2 separate regions of the Homo sapiens genome follow, and region 1 is linked to region 2. The links are contacts of gene promoters, found by promoter capture Hi-C in human tissues and cell types (Jung and others, 2019). All regions are on one chromosome and are shown on one strand. Each heading gives the region's core, a stretch centred on a gene start or on the middle of the fragment in contact. The rest is flanking DNA. Distances are from core to core; before and after follow the strand shown.

What was found. The method cuts DNA at HindIII sites, captures the fragments that hold promoters and counts their contacts. A contact is called where the count stands out against the background at its distance.
Region 1: a contact is called between a fragment that was not itself captured here and the fragment with the promoter of PNISR in region 2, in 3 of the 25 tissues and cell types used here (H1 embryonic stem cells, dorsolateral prefrontal cortex and hippocampus).

The regions. Positions count from the first base shown.
Region 1 is chr6:99,507,158-99,513,885 of GRCh38, forward strand. USP45 (ubiquitin specific peptidase 45) reads right to left here. Exons shown (of 18, transcript NM_001346022.3): 2 at 2,964-3,073; 3 at 1,453-1,625; 4 at 271-374. The coding sequence starts at 3,063. Among named protein-coding and RNA genes, the nearest start is that of USP45, 4.9 kb to the right of the region's middle. The HindIII fragment of the contact is 6,905 bases long and covers 1,621-6,728 here.
Region 2 is chr6:99,421,947-99,428,291 of GRCh38, forward strand. It overlaps PNISR (PNN interacting serine and arginine rich protein), which reads right to left and starts at 3,362. Exons shown (of 12, transcript NM_032870.4): 1 at 3,269-3,362. It overlaps PNISR-AS1 (PNISR antisense RNA 1), which reads left to right and starts at 2,925. Exons shown (of 3, transcript NR_125843.1): 1 at 2,925-3,168; 2 at 3,278-3,441. RefSeq lists enhancers at 2,663-3,183, 3,004-3,473, 3,165-4,364, 3,184-3,703, 3,704-4,224 and 3 more and a silencer at 2,840-3,020. The HindIII fragment of the contact is 23,928 bases long and covers 978-6,345 here.

The DNA of each region.
Region 1 (6,728 bases), core at 3,823-6,322, 87 kb after region 2:
GATCACGCCACTGCACTCCAGCCTTGGCGACAGAGTGAGACTCTGTCTCAACAACAACAAAAAGTAGAGAGATAGTTAAAATTTTTCCAATTTAAATTTTATATTCACAGGTAATATTAATTTTCTTGAAGTATCCCATAGATTGTGTTCAGGTTAAAAAACCATAAGCTGATAGAACATCTTTAAATATTTTACCTTAAAAGCTTAAAGAAAAAAAAAAATTGGGGGGCTGTGGTTAGTGGACACAAGAACTAACAAAATTTAACTTACCATATAATCCATGTGCTCAGATTAATTATAATACAATGGGGCTCTGTTCTGGAACTCTTAAAGTGCTTCAATGAATGTTGGCTTTCTGAGTTTTTACCACATCCCTGAAGATGAACAGAATTTTATTTTGTATGACTTACAAATGTTTGTTTCAAATTAATCAAAACTTAAATTATACTCACACTTATACTGAAAAGTTTTGTTTTTAATTTCAGGCCAGAGGAGAAAGTTTCAAAAAAGTAATATGGATTCTCATTAAATTTAATTTCTTGCCAACAGGCTAACATGCTCAATATACAGTATTTACCTAAAACAATCATGGGCAAAGTTAATTTCCCTATCATTTAAAAATGTGCACACTGTGGAACACCCAGCATCCTGGCAGGCCAGTGGTGCCCTTCTGCAAACACACATTTCCCAATCCCGTACACAACTTCACCCCAGCCTACTGAGAACTACTGAGACACAGACCAATCATAGCGATTTCCCTCACTAGGTAAGTAAAGAAATGAGATGCAATTCTGGTTAATGCAACATGAGGGGAAGTCAAATCCGCTGAATCTTTCCAGAAGGCTTTTTTTTTGTTTGTTTTTTAAGAGGAACACAACCATGAGGTTGAGGATGGCACAGCAGAAAACAGAATAAACCTCAGTTTTTAATGTTCTTTCCATTAAATTAACTAATCCTGAAGTGGCCTTACTTCTGGACATTTTGTGTGAAATAATAAAGATTTCTCTTATTTTTTTAAAAAAGTATATACTTTTAATTTCATTAAAAAAATTCCTTTATTACAGATATCAATAACTTTTAAACTTTAAGATTTTAAATTACTTTGCAAAAGCAGCAGAATAATCTGTTTTGAGAGAGAAAAAAATTAATCTGAAAGGTAGATCCATTTCCTAAGTAAATACAAAAGGTAAAGACTGGTCCAGATATGGGAACTACTGCAAATAGGTTGAATTACCTCTGCAAGTATTTATAAACCACACCTGATTACTTTCTGAACATAGCATACCTTTTACTTTACCTTAACAATCATTTTTAAGTTCATTCCTGGAAAATTTCTATCTAAATTGGAATAAATTTATCTTAACTCCTATGCATGACCAACAGTCCAACTCACAATAAGCATTTAAGGAAAACATTTCAGACAAACTCACATATAAATAATACTTTTCTTACCTGGAAGCCACACTTGAGGCACAACCAAATATCAGAAGTAAGTACTAGCTGCCCATCATAGAATCTTCTTTCTTTTAAACATTCTGAGCAAACTGACCACAGATTCTCAGCTATTGCTCTCTTTACATGATTCACGCTGATAGCATGACTTACATGTTGGCAAGTTAAACCTACTGAATAAGATAAAACAAAATCTCAACATTTTCTTTGCTACACCAAAGTGCTACCATTACTGAGCAAACCTCAAAAGTATTAAATGCTGTTAACTAAAAAGCACAGAGATTGAACACACAAAATAACTCAAAAGATATATGCTATATAATTCCATTTATATAATGTTCATGAAATAACATAATTATAGAATGAGAAGAGATTCATGGTTGTAGGGAGCAATGGACGCAAGGCAGAGGGTGTTGCTATAAATGGACAGCACATAGAGTGGTGATGACACAGTCAAGTATCTTGATTGGTGGTGGTTATACAAAGCTATACATGTACTAAAATGGGATGATGTTTCGATAGCCAGTTTGCTGCACTGAAGGATGTCTGAATTATCTCTTTAAATATCATTAGGACCTTATCTGATGTCCCTAATTTATTAGAGTTTAAATTTTTGAACTAATTTTAGATTCACAGGAAGGTATAAAGAAATATACAAGGAGGTCTCATTCACCCTTCACTGAGCCTCCCCTGATGTTAATGTTTTGCACTGCTATAGTAAAATATCAAAACCAGGAAGCTGACGTTGGTACAATCCTTAGAACTTATTCGGATTTCAGAAGACATAGGCACTCATATGTGAGTGTGTTTGTGTATAGCTGTATGCAACTATGCATACCTAAAATGGAAAAAATATATTAAAAATATCCCTTTAAATGGAGAGAACTAGCAAGAAAGTGAGGAAAATCCTCAGAGGCCCAAATCAAAAGCATGAGGCTAAAGAGAAAACCAAGCCCTGAGGCCAGCAGCTCCCAAAAGCCATCTGCCAAGCTCTGGTGGCTTGGTGACATGGTTTTAATAGGCCATGAGAAAGAGACCAAAAAAAAAAAAAAAGCCAATCTAAGTTACTTCATGTTATAAACTAAACAAAATCCTAATAAAAATGCCAACAGGATTTTTTGGAACTAGAAAAGGTGATTCTAATATTTATGCAGAAAACAGTAAAAATAAAGAGTAACAGATTTCTTAATTAAAAACATATACAGTCTTCCCTCAGATACTTGAGGCAGGGAGGTGGGGTGGGGTAGTTGGTTCTAGGACCTCCCCACATATACCCAAATCTGTGCATACTCAAGTCCCGCAGTGGGCCCCGTGGAATCTGCATTTAGAAGTCAGCCTGCCAAGTATGCAGTTTTCACGCATCCCAAGAATAGTGTATTTTCCATCTAGGTTTGGTGGAAAAAAATTTGTGTACAAGTTGATCCTCAGCGTTCAAACCCATGTTGTTGAAGGGTCAACTGCATTGTTATTTCTTCTCAACACTATTTGGGATGCCATATATCACAATTTACCAGCAATATCATCTGAAGAGTCTTCATCATGAGGTACAGTAGGCCTTTTACTTCTTTTGGCTTTCTCAGGTAAAGCTTTAGTTGGATCTTTCACCCGCATCTGTTATTTACTGAAGGGATTGAGGGAAAAAAATTCATACATTTTAGTCTTCAAAATTAAAATTTTATATTTTATTTAATGTGTATTAAAACTGAAATGACTTCAATTTCAACTGGTCCGGGAAATCAACAGAGGAAGAAGAGGGGAACATCACTTGAAATGAAATAAATCTTTGTTAAATCAGTATACACATGGTATATTCCATTGGCTTTTGCCAACTATACCATTATGGACTAAATGTTTGTGTCCCCACTCCAAATTGATATGTTGAACTCTAATCCCCAAAGTGATGATACTTGGAGGTGAAGCCTTTGAGAGGTAATTAGGTCATGTAGGTGGAGCCCTCATGAATGAGACTGGCCTCTTATAATAAGAGGCTAGAAAGCTACCTTTGTATCCACATGAGGATATACGAGAAGATGGCCATCTATAAACCAGGAAGAAGGCCCTCACCAGATACTAGATTTGCCAGCATCTTGACCCTGTACTTCCCAGCTCCCAGTATTGTGAGAAATAAGTCTGTGTTGTTTAAACCACCCAGTCTATAATAATTTGCTATACCAGGCTGAACCAAGACACAACCCCTAAATATATGATGTCCAGGTGAATGACCAAAACTAAAGTTTTCATCAACGGAGTAAGTATTGCTTCTGGATAATGAGTTCTCTTTACCCTTTCCTCCCTTCTGCTAGCAAGGAAATAGTAGGAGCTGGATGAGCCATACTGGATCAAAAATGGATAGCTGTAAGCCAAGCATAGTAAAGCCACTCTATACCTGTGTTGTACAACTAGCACTGGAATATTAAGAGAAAATTAAATTTCTATCTTTTTAAGCTACTACATTTTTGGGGGTTTTTCACTCTAGCTTTTTATCATGAAAAATTTTAAACATCTACAAAAGTTAAAAGAACAGTATAATGAACACTCATATACTAATTAGATTCCACATTTATATTATTATTACTATTATTATTATTATTATTATTTTGAGATGGATCTCGGCTCACTGCAACCTCCACGTCCTGGGTTCAAGCAATTCTCCTGCCTCAGCCTCCCAAGTAGCTGGGATTACAGGCGTGTGCCACCAGGCTTGGCTAATTTTTTTTGCATTTTTAGTAGAGATAGGGTTTCACTGTGTTAGTCAGAATGGTCTCGATCTCCTGACCTCGTGATCCGCCCACCTCAGTCTCCCAAAGTGCTGGGATTACAGGCGTGAGCCACCGTGCCCGGCTATTATTATTTTTTGAGACAAAGTCTCACTCTGATGGCCCAGGCTGGAGTGCAGTGGCCTGATTTCAGCTCACTGCAGCCTCAACCTCCCCAGGCTCAGGTGATACGCCCACCTCAGCCTCCCAAGTAGCTAGGACTACAGGTGCACACCACAATGCCCAGATAATTTTTTTGTATTTCTTAGTAGAGATGGGATTTCCCCATGTTGCCCAGGCTGGTCTCGAACTCCTGGGCTCAAGCAATCCACATGCCTTGGCTTCCCAAACTGCTGGGATTACAGGTATGAGCCATGGTGCCCCACCAATTCCACACCTATTAACAATTAGCTATGTTTGTTTTTATCTAAATATCAATATGTGTGTATAGAGAGACACATATATGTATGTGAGTGTGTGTATATATATATATATATATATATATATATATATATATATATACACATAGTTGAACTATTTGAAAGTTGTAGAGATCTTGACAGTTCATCCCTAAATACTTCAGCATGTATCTCTTAAAAATAAGCACATTCTCCTATATAACAATGTAATCATATCTAAGAAAATTAATAATTTTCTAATATCATCTCATATTCCATCATATTCTAATTTCCTTAGTTGACCCTAAATTGTCTTCTATAGCTGGTTTTTTGAAAAAGATTCAATCAAGGTTTGCACTTGATATTGGTTATGTCTCTTTAGTATCTTTTAATCTATTAACAGAACAGTTCTTCCAACCTGTTACTTGCCTAAGACTTTAGCTTTTTAAAGAGATCAGGCCAGTGCATGAGTCACCTTGAGGGTCTTGTTAAAATGAAAGTTCTGATGCAACAAGTCTGGCACAAGACCTGAGATTCTACCTACCTAAAAAGCTTCTAACTGAAGCCACTGCTGGGGGCCCATAGAATACTCTTTCGACAGCAAAGTTATATAATGTCTCACACTGAATTTGTCTCTTTCTTCATAGTGTTATTTACCTCTATCCCTTATATTTATTAAAAATTCAGTTAATTATCAAAGATTTTAGATACAAGCTAAGCATTTTTTAAAACTACTATATTTTGGAGTCTCTGTTAGAGTAGCTTGGCCTACCTTTTACTCTCCTGCCTGGTGGCTAAGCAACATCGCAATTTTCATGGTTGCTGACTTACTTCTCAATGATCAAGGTAATGAATCTTTCAATTCAGTACTAAATTCCAAATCTTGATTTATTCATTCCATAATTCACAATAAGGGAGCTTTCAAGTTTACCATTAAGTCCAACGGTCATCACTACTGAACTAAGTTGCAATAAATTAAGGGCTTCCGGGTTAGGAACATGTAAAAAGCCTCTGAGTTCCTTGAGCACTTCATCTCTACCTTCTCCCTCCAAACTTCCTCATCTACTCTCCCCTACAGTTCCACCTTATAAAATCACTAATTTAAGTATCCCCTTCTCTGACAGCAACTTCCCAGTTCTTCCAACTTGCCTGATCAGCCACTCATATTTTCCTATAGTGTCCAGGCTGACAAGAGGCTGCATCTCAACAAGTCCTTCCATGACCCTTACAGCAGGGCAGGGAGAAGTGGAAATGGCAAATGGAGAGCTGCTTCCTAAAGCAAGTCACATGGCACATTTAACTTCAAGCAGACATGGAGAGGGGTTGCCCATGTACAAAGAGTGCAGCATTACATGTACCCAAAAATAGGTGAACCGGAATACTTGTGCAGAGCCTTAAGGACTACATCACCTCTCTCGCAGAACCCAATCCTAGATGAACCCAATTAACCATTTTCTCCATGTCGGGAGAAAGTCTCTTAAGAAAGCAGACTAGGTCCATTATTATTCACTTCACCTTCTGGTCAACTTACATACTATCCACAGAGCCATTTCAAATCTTCTTCACTTTCCTCAAACCTCTAACCCCTCCAACTCCCAACTAACTTACCAAAAACTGATCTAGTCTTTTATAAGGGAAAAGAGACATAAGCAGACGGCAAATTTGATCTTTCTAACCCCAAATTTGCAAACCTACCTCCATCAATTTAAATTTGATGTCCTGAAAAGAGATAGGTATAACTAATAAAGTACAGGGAAAATGGCCTATGAGAAACTGATTATATTTTCTCGCTGTGGTACAGATAAGCTCTTGATAAAGATGAGCATTAACACAGATAATGCTAGCAAAATAATAAACAAAACCAGGCATTTGACCTACATACTGTAAGCAACCTGTGCCTTTTTTCAAAAACACTGACTCAAAATTAACTTGGTAATGTAGAGGCAATTTCTGATGATTTTTCTGCCATATGTAATGTCTAAACAGACAGAATCATTTGGTACAGTAACCCAGAATTCGGCAATTATTTATCTGTAGTTTTCCAATTTCCATTTGAGGCAAAAGGGCAAAATTAAAAGTCCAATTATTAGAGCTTCCAATACTTTTTATCATCAAAATTGTG
Region 2 (6,345 bases), core at 2,112-4,611:
CCTCCACCTCCCAGGTTCAAGCAATTCTCATGCCTCAGCCTCCCGAGTAGCTGGGACTACAGGTGCATGCCACCGCGCGAGGATAATGTTTGTATTTTTTAGTAGGGATGGAGTTTCACCATGTTGCCCAGGCTATCCTCAAACTTCTGGCCTCAATGATCCATCCTCCTCAGCCTCCCAAAGTGCTGGGACTACAGGCATGAGCCACCCCGTGTGGCCAAAATGACAATCATTAATATTTACAAAAGTCACTCAGAGACTGTGACAGAGATGGATGAGAATTAAAATGTGGTATTTTAAAGTCCTTGAGCATCAACTACAAAATCAAAGAGCTACAGAAACACATCTATCATTTGATGCATAGGATGAAATATTTCTCAAATCAACCACAAAGCTGAGAAGCCAGAAAATACAACAATCCTCTTCACCCCTGACATTTCAGTCTTACATGAGTTGACTGACCTCAAAGTCAAAAAAGAATTTATTTGTTTAATTCAGATTAGGTGGAAATGGCACTGGTAAAAATTAATCTTGTAATCATTCGAAATACGGAAAACAGAAATTTTGCTACTTTATGTGACATGCATTTTAGTATATACTGAAATACTTGCAGCTTGTAGCTCAAAAGACTATTTTAAAAGTGGAGGACAAGCATGGCGGCTCATGCCTGTAAACCCAGCACTTTGGCAGGCCAAGGTGGGTTCATCACTTGAGGCCAGGAATTCGAGACCAGCCTGGCCAACATGGCGAAACCTCCACTCTACTGAAAATACAGAAATTAGCTGGGCATGGTGGCATATACCTGTAGTCCCAGCTACTTAGCAGGCTGAGGCAGGAGAATCACTTGAACCCGGGAGGCAGGGGTTGCAATGAGCCAAGATTGTGCCACCACTGCACTCCGGTCTGGGAAACAGAGTGACACTCTGTCTCAAAAAAAAAAAAAAAAAAAAAAACTGGAGAATTGGAGAGTCGGTTATAAATACCCCCCCAATAATAATTTAAAAATAAATGTAGCGAGAGCGCCCAAAATGACACCCTAGTAGCAACAAGCACACCTAGGCACGAGAACTTGGTTTTAATACCATTCTTCAATAAAAGGAATCAGAGATCTTTAAAGAAATAGCTGACTCTAGGACTGCGACAGGAAATATAAAAGATGAGTCTGGGGCATGTATACTGCCAGGAAGCAATAAAGTGCTAAAAAAAAAAAAATTGATAGGAACATGTCAAAGGAGAACAGTAGACAACTCGAAGAGCTGCCAATGGCCAAAGCTGGTACAATTTGAGCAACAAAATAAAGAAGTACTGGATTATAATATAAGTTATGTAATAAACATCCACAAGCCCATAAGGATATGATAAAATAAACTAACAAATAAATGTGAGGGAAGACACAAATCTCCCACAGAGAATTCCAAATAAATTATGTAAATATTCCACCCTAACTGAGGAAGAGCACAACTGTCCATTCAGTAAGCGTGGGCTCTGCAAAGTGACTTCCTTCCAAAGAGAACAGTATAAAAAGGGGTGGGGGAAGTAACTTTACAGTGGATAAATCTAACAAACGCTACTCCAGAAGGATGATCAAGGTCAGTAATAATGTGATAAGTCACCTTGATAGTATGTATCCTTGATAGCATGTGTTGAAAAGGGCATCTTACCTCTGTGATCTTCCCCTGATATAGTCCGTAAGGCCATTTTAATCATGAGAAAATCGTCTGGCAAATTCCAATAGCAGGGCACCCTACAATATACCTGACCATACTCCTCAAAAAATGTCAAGGTCACTGTATTAGTTTGGTATGCTTGCCATAACAAAGTACCAAAGACTGGGTGGCTTAAGCAACAGAAATTTATTTCCTCACTGTTCTGGAGGCGTATAGTGTAAGCTCTATGGGGTTGATTTCATTCTAAGGCCTCTCTCCTTGGCTTGTGGATGGTTGTCTTCTCCCTATGTCTTCACATGATCATCCCTCTGTATCCTACTCTCTTCTTATAAGGACAGCAGTTATTAATATATTGGGCTAAGGTCCACCCTAGTGACCTCATCTTCTTTAAAGACCCTCTCTCCAAATACAGTCACGTTCTGGGGTACTGAGGTTAGGACTTCAAGATACGAATTTTAGAGGGGCACAAGTCAGCCCTTAACAGTCATCAAAAACTAGTTAAGCCTGAGAAACTGTCACAGCCAAGAATATACAGCCTAAGAATATACAACAACTAAATGTAATGTGATATCCTAGCTGGCATCCTGGAACAGAAAAAGGACTTTAGGTAAAATGTGAGGAAGTAGGAATAAACTATGGACCTTAGTTAATAATTTATCATTATTGGTTCATTAGTTGCAACAAATGTACCATACTAACATCTATTAATAAGAAGATAAACTGTGTGTGTAGTGGGGACGTCGTATGTGCTCAACGTAAACAAAAACTGTTCTAAAACATAAAGTCTATTAGTAAGTTAAAAAAAAAAACTCTCAAGAACATCTTTAAAGAACTGTTTTCTCTATAAGCCCTTTGCCACTTTACAAAAAAATTCCACAAGTAAAATCTTTAGTAGTCTGGTTGCTGTTGTTTTCGCCCTGCTGCACTCAAATGAGGAATTCTAAGTTTATTTTGTTTTACTTGGGGGCAGGGGGAAGTAAAAAGATGTAAAAGATTAATGTTGAATTAAAATCTTAAGCTAGAATGTTAATTTAACAACCCACAAACAAATTTGTCTAATGCTCAATTTGTTCAGATGACGATACTATCCACCACAGGGTAAAAAACTGAAATATTGGATACTACCTTTAGCGAAGCTTAACACATAATATCCATCATTGGGTAAGAACACACGAAAAACACAAACTAAGGAACTGCGCCTGCGTAGTCAGAGCCTCAAAGGGTATAAGCTCCAGGTCGCGAGCCCCCGCCTCCTCCGCCCCCATGAACCCCCTTCCCACAAGGGGGTTCCCACTGCGCACGCGCAGTGTTTAACGGCCGGTCAGGAACCCAACAATTAGTCCCTTCTCGTCCGAGAGGAAACTCTGTGAGAAGATGGGACCGTGAGCACTCTCTTTAACAAGGACATTTCCTTTTCAGCGAAAGCAGCGCTCTGATTTACCAAGTCTGGCGGACCGCAGCGCTTTAAAGGAATGAGGTTCCAGCGGTCGCGCCAAGCAGCGTACGCAGCCTATTTTAAGTTATGCTACCTTCGCCACAGAAACCAAGAACGTTGTAATGGTCCGGCAAGTGCCCACGTATAATTGTTCTCCATCACTTACCCACTCTAGTTCGGGAACACCCTTGTCGCCGCCGTTCCGGTAACACCTCTCCAACGCTTTCGATGCTTCTACTTCTTCGGGAACAAGACAAGATGGCGCCCGATTTGTCTCACCCGGAAGTAAAGAATAATAACATCCGTTTGTCATCTGAAGCCATACCATCTCTCATCCAGGTTTGTGAACACGTGATTGTGCGGATTGACATGTTTCGGCGCCATTTTTTTTGTGGGCAAAACCATCTCTACTCTGGTCAACACCGGGCAACTGAACCATTCCTGCACGTTACTTTTTAACGTAGCTGGCGCCATTCCCGACCCATCTTTATAGTGGCCAGAAAGCCAAGAACGTAAGTGTTCTACACATAGGGCGCCTTCAAATTTTTTACTTTAGCAACGTGATCTTCCTTTAAGGGGAAGTATGTTCCCTCCTAGAAACACTCCCGCCTTGGAGAAGGGGTTGAGTTCGCAACTCCACTTACAGACTACGGAGGAACCCCAGGGTCAAACCAAACCAAACCAATTCTGGCCAGTTGCTTAGCGCAGTTCAAGTTACTTAGTGCGCTGGAAGCGGCATTTCAGGCAATCCAACTTCTGGCTCGAACCTTCTCGGAGTATTCCAAGGATGGAATACTCTCACTTGAGCGCTGCCGAGGGTGCCGCTTGAGGAAAACGTGAGTTTGTGAAGGTGAGCAGTCTGGGTCGGTAGCGAAAGCGGAGACCTTAGCTGACCCCGCAGCTGTCTTTCTCTTTGTTAACCTCAACACATCGCGCCCCCTTCCGGGAACACTTGCTCTTCTCTCCTTGGCTTAACTAGTCCCGGTTTTTCATTCTTTATCCGTGACTTTTAGGGAACCGTGGGGGGGAAGTCTGGTTTCCGTCCTGCTGCTTTCCTTCAACTACAAGATGGCTTCTCAAAAGGACGCATGCAATGCCATTCCTCAAAGACAGTATGTTGATTTCACAGTGTTTTTATATGAACAACGTTCAAGTGTCAAAAGTATCAATTTCCAGGCTAGGAGCTACAAGTTAAAAGGAAAACAAAAATGTTCCAAAGATACAGTGTTTATTAGCTACATCTTGGGAAGTGCCTTTCCAGAGAGTAACATGAAAACTTCTGCGTGACAAAGTGCACGAAGTATCTGAATTATTTCATTGGGCAATTGTCGTGCAAAAGAAATAGCAAATTACCGTAGAAACAAAATAGTAAGAGCACAGCTAGATGGATAAAGATACAGATGTGAAAATATAGATGCCCTTTGCATGAAAATTCAGTTTTCCTCAGCACTAGAGACCCAGATACTCCTGAATTAGCATTATAATAAAGTCGTCACTAGCTAACCATCTGCCTTTCCTCCAATCCACGGACGTGGTCCTCAAAATAACATTTTATCTTGTGAGAAACCTTCATTAATTACACCTAACAACACCATGACGCAGGTTCATGAGGATACTACTGAAGGCAAAAGGAAATCCCTATTTCTCTGACCCTTTCCCTAATTTCCACTTAGCACAAATAAGACTACTGGACAGTCTGATTTTAAAAAATCACTGTATGGGCCGGGCTTGGTGGCTCCCGCCTGTAATCCCAGCACTTTGGGAGGCCGAGGCGGGCAGATCACTTGAGGTCAGGAGTTCAAGACCAGCCTGGCCAACATGGTGAAACCCCGTCTCTACTAAAAATACAAAAATTACCTGGGCGTGGTGGCAGGCGCCTGTAATCCTAGCTACTAGGGGGGCTGAGGCAGGAGAATTGCTTGAACTCAGGGTCAGAGGTCGCAGTGAGCCGAGATCCCTCCACTGCACTCCAGCCTGGGCAACAGAGTGAGTCTCTGTCTCAAAAGAATAAAATAAATAAAAACCACTGTATGGAGCAAAAACTAGAAGGACATATACCACATGTTATCAGTAATCTCTAATTTTGCTCTGTGATTTTGTGCATTTTCCAAGTTTTTTGCATCAGGTCTGATTTTCAAGTTTAATTCTCTGAGAAACATTCTCATCAGAGGAATGTTCTATCTTCTTAGAGAAACCTGATTGGCCTAGTGAAACTGTCATGTTCCTACTCTCTATAATCATATTGTAATTCTTTGCTTGTTTCCCTAGTAAAGGTGAGGCAATTTTCGGGTAAGGGATTTCCCCCTCACCTCTGCCCTCCAAGTGGCCAGCATCTGCTTTGCACACAGAAATTTTTACATCTGCTATATGTTTGCATTAATATGTTCAACAATGATCCTAATGTAGGCCAGTCATTTTGGAAATGCATTGTGAAGTGGAGAGGATTATTAAATACCTCACATTTTGTTCCTTGTGCCAGTTTAATGAGACACCCTCAGCAATTGCTATTTACCAGACCAGAAAATGAATTTTACAGTTCCAATTCCAGTTCCCTTTCTCTAACCACTCTGTTCTAAGAGTTCCCCGTAACATTATGATCTTATGGACACATCAGGTAAGTGTATGTATTTCAACACAGAATTTTCTAAGAATGTGTGTTGTGGTGTTAAATTTCTATGTAAGCAGCTGTCACGTGCATGATCTGCTGCAGTTTGATCATCCTGCGCCTGGATCATCAAATGCTTAGCAGCCATCATTTTACCAGTCTTATCTGACAATCTGCTGTTAATGACTAACAACCAGGGGACTTTATAGGTTAAAATTTTTATTAACTTCCTCTGTTTTCAGTGTTTAAAGTAGAAAATTTGGCCAATGTGGCTCACGCCTGTAATGCCAATACTTTGGGAGGCCAAGGAGGGTGGATCACCTGAGGCCAGGAGTCTGAGACTAGCCTGGCCACCATGGGGAAACTGCCTACAAAAAAATACAAAAATTAGCTGGGTGTGGTGGCCCAGCTACTCAGGAGGCTGATGCATGAGAATCACTTGAACCCGGGAGGTGGAAGTTGTAGTGAGCCGAGATCGTGCCACTGCATTCCAGCCTGTGCTACACAGCGAGACTCTGTCTCAATGAATGAATGAATGAATGAATGAATGAATGGAGTGAAGTAGAAAATTCTAGGGGAGGACATGTCACCTTCCATTATTACAGAAACAAATTATCCTTAAAGCAAAATGGAAATAA